Regions from separate parts of the Homo sapiens genome. Here region 1 is linked to region 2. Evidence: promoter capture Hi-C in 16 types of primary human blood cells and fetal thymus (Javierre and others, 2016). All regions are on one chromosome and are shown on one strand. The core of a region is centred on a gene start or on the middle of the fragment in contact, and the rest is flanking DNA. Distances in the headings are between cores, read along the strand shown. Region 1 overlaps LOC124904296 (a long non-coding RNA gene). Region 2 holds the start of KCNA3 (potassium voltage-gated channel subfamily A member 3).

What was found. Contacts are between HindIII fragments. The CHiCAGO score rates a contact against its expected background, and 5 or more counts as called.
Region 1: a contact is called between a fragment that was not itself captured here and the fragment with the promoter of KCNA3 in region 2, in 1 of 17 cell types (megakaryocytes). The highest score is 6.1, in megakaryocytes.

The regions. Positions count from the first base shown.
Region 1 is chr1:110,755,767-110,759,889 of GRCh38, reverse strand. The region is part of intron 1 of LOC124904296 (a long non-coding RNA gene); the gene reads left to right. Among named protein-coding and RNA genes, the nearest start is that of KCNA3, 83 kb to the right of the region's middle. The HindIII fragment of the contact is 684 bases long and covers 1,037-1,720 here.
Region 2 is chr1:110,672,865-110,676,962 of GRCh38, reverse strand. KCNA3 (potassium voltage-gated channel subfamily A member 3) reads left to right here and starts at 2,023. Exons shown (of 1, transcript NM_002232.5): 1 at 2,023-4,098. The coding sequence starts at 2,154. The coding sequence ends at 3,881. RefSeq lists silencers at 1,898-1,957, 2,028-2,077, 2,188-2,287. The HindIII fragment of the contact is 4,711 bases long and covers 1-4,098 here.

The sequences.
Region 1 (4,123 bases), core at 129-2,628, 84 kb before region 2:
GTAAGTGCTCAATAAATATTTGTTGAGTGACCCTTATCCCCCAATTCTTTAGCGCATACACCTGCCCCCAAGTTTTCCAGATTAAATTTTAACTTTTCCTTTCTTATTAATTCTCCACTAATCTTCCTGAAATAACCAAAAGTTTCAGCAGCTTTTAAAGCCTCTTTATATATTCACATCCAATTGAAAATTATAAAAATATGTACTCAAATAAAAGATAATGTCTGTCCTCCTGTTTGTTATAACCAGAGAATGTGCAATCAGATTATCTAATAATACTTATGTCAAGTTGTTTAAATAAATAAGCTAAAAAAAGAGGTGGTAGTTAATAAGAGCACATTTTAAACCGTTTAATGTGGAATTATATACATTATTAGGCAGGTACTACTTCTGATTTTGTAATAATGTTTCTTCACTGGAATCTATGATAAATTCATTGTTTGAGATGACATCTTTGTGAGGCTATCTAAACTTAAGCCTTTGGATTGATTTAGCTAAATTTCATTCAAAGTGTTTTAAAATAAATTTACCATCATTTTGATGTTTTTAGAAATCTTTATAAAATCAACAGATGAAAGAGTTAGAAGAATTTGATTTTAGCCTGCCAATAATCTATTAGTCTATTATTTGAGAGGAAATCTATGTCATTTCAAGTCAATTCAATAAACACACATCGAAAACCAACTCTATGCCAGGCATTAGGATATGAACAAAATACATAAAGATGTGAAACATGGCACCTGCCCTTAAGAAGCTTATAGTCTAGTGGGGAGAAACAAATGACCAAGGAAATGGATATAATGCAGATAAGAAGTGGAATAAGATCTGAGGGGCTGATTTTTTATAGGATAAAGGTAATGTCTGTACACTGTGAAAGGAAGGAAGATAGAGTATGAATTTACAGATATTGGTAGTTTCTGTTTTGAATTATAGAGAGGTTCATTCCATATTAATCTTCTTTATCCACTTAATACCTTTATTACTCTTATATGTACAGTCAGATTTAGGGCAATAATATTTAGGTTTAGAATAAGCTTAAAGATGAAATGCTGACCTTCAGTCTTGTCTAGAATATTTTTCTGAAGAATTGAGATAAACAATGAAGGATGGACAATTAAATGACCAGTAATGCTGGCTCCTTGGTTGAGGCGTATATGAAATTTACTCTCAAATTATTCTACAAGCTATCATAAATATTTTTAAATTGCTATAATAAAAGATCCTAGGTATGTTTCCATCTTTTGGTCACCTTTGAAAAGAGGCCAAGGAAGAACAATCCTCAGATCAGTTATTCCAAAAATCACTGCTATTCTGGAAGGCAACTCCTCTACACTATTGTCAGGCAAAAGATGTCTGAAAACAATATAAAATTCAGGAAGGTGTCTGCATTTTCCCTGACATTATTCCTTTTCAAATATGTTCCAGTGGCACTACACTAAGCATTTTACCTATGTTATCCCAATTAAGCTCCCCACAATCCTATAAAGAAGTCATAAAACCACTGAATGTAAAGCTCATGTGAGCAGAGACTGCAGTCTCTTTCATTACCAGCTGTCTCCCCAGAGCCTAGAACAGAGCCTGGAATTGCACAGATGCTTGTAAATATTTTTGGAATGAATGAAAGGTTGGCTGACTACATGTTAAAGAACTTTCTCAAGGTCACATAGCTAGTAAAGAGTAGAGTCAGGACTCCAACTCAGATCTGTCCGATTGCAAAGCTTCTGCTTCTAACCCCTACGCTCTATTATCTTCCCTGGCTTGAAACTACATTTTCCATCAATTCCAGACAGCTGAAAAATCAGGATGTCCAATATTTCCAGAGGCACCAACTGGAAAACTGCCCTAGTTAGTCTTGACAAGAAACTAGAGTGGGGATTAAGAGAGCAGTCCTTGTTTTAAGGAGACTCAGAGGTGGGACAGTGATGGCTAATTCACCTCTAGGTACCATCTAAGTTGGCATCTTTGAAGATATGTTGTGAGGTTTAAATAATATTCTATATGTAATAGACTTAGCCTGGTACTTAAGACTTAGTAACAATCAATAGTTGCAAGAACAAAGACAGTAACTGTAAATTTTATAGAACATATGATGCTGTTATCCTAAAATGTTGAAAGTAAATGACAGTAGAGCTTTAGAGTGACTTTAGATGGTAAGACTGATGTCCAGCACAGTTGCCTGACTCATGTAGTAATCATTTGAATGGCTTAATGAGCCTCCTATTTGCCTTCCTATTTTAATATAACAGGAGTACTGAGAAATATATTTTTAAATTGTATTCTGAACACTTTACAAATCCCGACTCCTTTAACCCTCATAACAACCTTTGAGGTAGATATCATGATTACCATCCCCACTTTACACATTATTTTACTTAATAGATTTGAATTCAGCCTGTCAGTAATCTGTTAATCTATGATTTGAGAGGAAATGGAGGCACAAAGAGGCTAAGCAATTTGACAAGATCATGTAGCTGGTGAGTGCCAAGGTGGGATTAAACCCAGACAACATGGCTTCAGGTCTATGCTCTTAACCAGTATACTCTAGAAAAGAGCAGTGTAGTCAGTTCTAACTCCTATGGCCTGCTGGCACCCTGAAGCTGGCTGCCTGTATGAACCTACAGTACAGACTATGTAACAAACAGACAACAAAATACAAATTTATAATACTTCAGAAATTGGTAGTTGTCAATGTCTTTATCATAAGAAGAAGGAAGACATAAAATCAGTGATCTAAGTTTACTTCCATCTTAAAAGCTGGAAAAGGAAGAGCAAATTAAATCTAAAGTAAGTAGAAGAAAATAAGTAACAAAAATAAGGACAGAAATCAATTAAATAAAAAATGGACAAACAGATAAAATCAGTGCAAACATTTATTATTAGAAAAGATGAATAAAATTGGTAATCCCCACCTAGACTGCTGTGAAGATTATAAAATGCGATTTAAAATTTTTGATGCTCTTTCCATCAAGAAATGGACTCTATATTTCTTCCTCTTAATTTGGGCTGGCCTCGGTGACTTGCTTGTAACCAGTAAAATTTGGTGAACATGGCAATGTTTTACTTTCAATCTATGTTAGGAAAAGCCAAACAACTTCCAACTGGTTCTCTTGGGATGCTTGCTCTGGAAGAAGACAGCTGCTAAGCTGGAGAGGCCACATGTAAACACTCCATCAACAGCCCCAGCTGAGCTCCCAGCCAACAGCAGGCACCAGCTGCCAGCCATGTAAGGAAGCCATCTTGGGCATCCTGCCTAGTTGAGTCTCACATGACTGGAGCCCCAACTGACAACTGAATTCAATGACATTAAAGGCTCCAAGTGAGAACTGTTCAGCTGAGCTTTTCTCAAATTTCAGCCCCACAAAACCATGAGTAAATTAAATTTGTGGTCTTAAGCTGCTAATGCTAGGGATAATTTGTTAAGCAGCAGTCGTAATCCAGACACTCATCAAGAATAAAAAGAAAATACAAATTTTTGGTATCAGAAATGAAGGAGGGGACAACACTGTAGATACTATACACATTAAAAGGAGAATAAAGCCATATGATGAACAACTTTATGTCAGTATATTTGGCAATTTAGATTAAGTGGACAAATTCCTCAAAAGACACAAATTACCAAAACTGCGACAAGACATAGAAAATCTTAATAGCCATAAATATGTATGATAAAAGAAGAAATTAAGTTTATATTCAAAAATATTCCCACAAAGGAAACTTTAGCCCCAGATAGTTCAACAGTAAATTTAATCAAATATTTAGGGAAGAAATAATACTAATGTTACATAAACTCAGAAAATATAGGAGCTAGGAATACTTCCAAACTCATTTTAGAAAGCCAGCACAATCTTGACATCAAAACCTGACAAAGACATTACAAGAAAACAAAACTTCAGACCATGAGTCCCTTGTGAATACAGACATGAATATCACTAATAAAGTGTTAGAAAATAATATCCACATATCTATAACATAATCTAAGTGAGTTCGTACCAGGAATGCAAAGTTGGTTCAACATTCAAATATAAATCGACTTCTATATGTGAAAATCAATTGAATTTCTACATAGTAGTCAAAAACAAGTAAAAAATCAAATTAAAACAATTATTCATAATAATATCGAAAA
Region 2 (4,098 bases), core at 774-3,273:
CCTCTGCTCTGGTCTTCCTTGCCATTGATTAATATTAATTTCAGTACTAATTCCTGCAAAAGAAGGAATAAATCATTTTCTAAGTCAGACATAGAAGTACATGAAACATCTGGTCTTTAAAAATAGGGTCTTTGCCTTTCCATGAGCTATCATTGCAGCAAGCAGTCTGTCTCATTCTAAGATTTAAATATATGAATGATTGATTATACTGCTACTCTAATCACCAGCTCAAAATATATACGCAAAATAATGAGGTGGCTGTCACATTCCAGTGTTCTGGAGTTTTGTAAGAGAAAGAGTTTTACGTGGTTGCCCAGTTTTGCCATTCCACAACATAAGTGACTGCCTGCATTGTCTGGCACTGACCAGGAGGTGAAACGGAAGATGAAGGGACAATAAAAGGACATGGGTGCCTGTTGTGCCCAGGAGAGCCGGAGGTGGAAATCCTATGGAATAAATGAGCAGTGTTTTCTATGGTGAGCTCAGTTTTTCCTCACTCCTCATCCTAGGAATCACAGCAGCATCTTGGGCTCAAAAAGAAGAAATGTTGAAACTCCAGAGCAGATAGCAACGCAAAGAGACACTCCTTGGGGAATTCAATCTGACAAGTATGTACCAAGTCTCCACCATTTACAAGGCACTTTGGTAGTTGCTAGAAATATAAGTTGGCTAGGACCTACTCTGTGCCCTAGAGAACCCCATGGTTGGGAGTGGTGGTGGGAAGTATTGACCACAAATCACTTACTTAAAATTGAATTGTCAGCTAACTTTGGGTGGGTGAGGAGCTGTCTAGACAATAGTTCCTCTTCTGTAAATGATTTGAATGATACAATAAAAAACAGACTTTTTAAAGCCTAGGGTTGAGTTATATTAGATTGCTAAAATTTCTGGAAACAAATTGTGTTCAAAGTAACCACAATAATTTGGAAAAATAAGTTTAAAGAAGATACATGTAAGTTATCTCTGGGCCCAGATCAAGCAAGAGGTACAAGTTGCAGAATGAATGTCCTTCCAGTTTAACAACTAGAGCGCTGCAAATTCCCTACCACAAGGGCAGTGCCAAAATATTAAGTAAAAAGTCTAGGTACAGGTCCTGCTCTCATCCCTTCCACGACAGGCTTGAGTCATAAAGCTGGACTTTCTAACCACACAACTTCGACTTCGTGAATTTCCTTTCCCATTTTTCCTCTTATTTCCCCGCCAACAGGAAACCTGTGTAGTGGATAAAGACCAGGCTGTCACTGCTAATCCCAATCAGAAACTTGGTCCTTGATTCTTCCCAGTGGCCGACATCTCCGCTGCGAAAACGGGTGTGAACTATTCACTAAAGCAGCAGGGCCCGAACGCCTTTAACAATCCATTTCCTTCGGACTCCGTTTGCGAAGCCCATCAGCACCCATTACTCCCTTTGGCTTCGCATCCTAGCAGAAGCTAAATTGTTTAAACCCCCGCTCCTCCCCAGGGTTTGGCGGTCCTCGACCCTCAAGGGAACCTGGGATGCCGGCGCCAGGCTTGCCTCTGGCCCAGGGCGCCCGCCTGGCCTGCACTCCCTCCCTGGACACTGGGCCCGCCTGCCCTCCCCGGGCTGTACCTAGGGGTGTGGAGGCCAGGGGGCCGGCGCCCGCGGGGCCGCGGCGGGAGCTCTCCCGGCCCACGGGCCGAAAACCCTGGCGACTGGGACGCGGCCAGGCGGGCCGGGGGCGAGGGGCGCTGACCAGAAGCGGGCGGAGCCTAGGGGCCCGGGCCGGCAGCCTGACTCCCCGTGGGCCGGCTCTGCTGGGTGGGCATTCCCGCGGGGCGCCGAGGTACAACATGAGGGCTCTTTCGCTGACACCGAGGGGCCTTGAGGGCTGCAAGAAATGCAGGCCCGGCGGCTGCCCCCGAGAGCGGGACGCGCGCCCGCGCGGTGGGCGGGAATCCTAAGGGGACGCGGAGGCGGGCGCGCGCCCCGCAGGGGAGGGGGCGGAGAGCGCGAGAAGGAGGGAGGAGGCGTCCCCGTGCGGGAGCCCGGCTGACCGCGCCAGACCCAGACAGAGCATCGCGGCTTTGGCTGCAACAGGCGGTGGGCTCGGCTCGGGGGCGGAGGCGGCGAAAGGGCGGGGAGCGCGAGGAGGAGCGACCTGGCCTCACCGCTGCCGCCTCTTCCCCGCCGCATGGACGAGCGCCTCAGCCTTCTGCGCTCGCCGCCGCCGCCCTCAGCCCGCCACCGCGCCCACCCTCCTCAGCGCCCAGCGAGCAGCGGCGGTGCCCACACGCTGGTGAACCACGGCTACGCGGAGCCCGCCGCAGGCCGCGAGCTGCCGCCCGACATGACCGTGGTGCCCGGGGACCACCTGCTGGAGCCGGAGGTGGCCGATGGTGGAGGGGCCCCGCCTCAAGGCGGCTGTGGCGGCGGCGGCTGCGACCGCTACGAGCCGCTGCCGCCCTCACTGCCGGCCGCGGGCGAGCAGGACTGCTGCGGGGAGCGCGTGGTCATCAACATCTCCGGGCTGCGCTTCGAGACGCAGCTGAAGACCCTTTGCCAGTTCCCCGAGACGCTGCTGGGCGACCCCAAGCGGCGCATGAGGTACTTCGACCCGCTCCGCAACGAGTACTTCTTCGACCGCAACCGGCCCAGCTTCGACGCCATCCTCTACTACTATCAGTCCGGGGGCCGCATCCGCCGGCCGGTCAACGTGCCCATCGACATTTTCTCCGAGGAGATCCGCTTCTACCAGCTGGGCGAGGAGGCCATGGAGAAGTTCCGCGAGGACGAGGGCTTCCTGCGGGAGGAGGAGCGGCCCTTGCCCCGCCGCGACTTCCAGCGCCAGGTGTGGCTGCTCTTCGAGTACCCCGAGAGCTCCGGGCCGGCCCGGGGCATCGCCATCGTGTCCGTGCTGGTCATCCTCATCTCCATTGTCATCTTCTGCCTGGAGACGCTGCCGGAGTTCCGCGACGAGAAGGACTACCCCGCCTCGACGTCGCAGGACTCATTCGAAGCAGCCGGCAACAGCACGTCGGGGTCCCGCGCAGGAGCCTCCAGCTTCTCCGATCCCTTCTTCGTGGTGGAGACGCTGTGCATCATCTGGTTCTCCTTCGAACTGCTGGTGCGGTTCTTCGCTTGTCCTAGCAAAGCCACCTTCTCGCGAAACATCATGAACCTGATCGACATTGTGGCCATCATTCCTTATTTTATCACTCTGGGTACCGAGCTGGCCGAACGACAGGGCAATGGACAGCAGGCCATGTCTCTGGCCATCCTGAGGGTCATCCGCCTGGTAAGGGTCTTCCGCATCTTCAAGCTGTCGCGCCACTCCAAGGGGCTGCAGATCCTCGGGCAAACGCTGAAGGCGTCCATGCGGGAGCTGGGATTGCTCATCTTCTTCCTCTTTATTGGGGTCATCCTTTTCTCCAGCGCGGTCTACTTTGCCGAGGCAGACGACCCCACTTCAGGTTTCAGCAGCATCCCGGATGCCTTCTGGTGGGCAGTGGTAACCATGACAACAGTGGGTTACGGCGATATGCACCCAGTGACCATAGGGGGCAAGATTGTGGGATCTCTCTGTGCCATCGCCGGTGTCTTGACCATCGCATTGCCAGTTCCCGTGATTGTTTCCAACTTCAATTACTTCTACCACCGGGAGACAGAAGGGGAAGAGCAATCCCAGTACATGCACGTGGGAAGTTGCCAGCACCTCTCCTCTTCAGCCGAGGAGCTCCGAAAAGCAAGGAGTAACTCGACTCTGAGTAAGTCGGAGTATATGGTGATCGAAGAGGGGGGTATGAACCATAGCGCTTTCCCCCAGACCCCTTTCAAAACGGGCAATTCCACTGCCACCTGCACCACGAACAATAATCCCAACTCTTGTGTCAACATCAAAAAGATATTCACCGATGTTTAATATGTGATACAAGTGACATGCTGTGCTCAGTATTGTGTGGAACGTGCCCCCTTGGTCTGCCTATGCCCTTGTTTTATACATTTCCAGACCATTCATCAAGGAAAGGACCTGAAGAAGTGGAAAGCACACTTCATTCTCCCTCTCCCTGCTGCTTCATACTGAAACAGGTGCCTGTTTTGCAAGTGGGCTGCATTCTCTCAGCTCTCCTTTTCCCTCT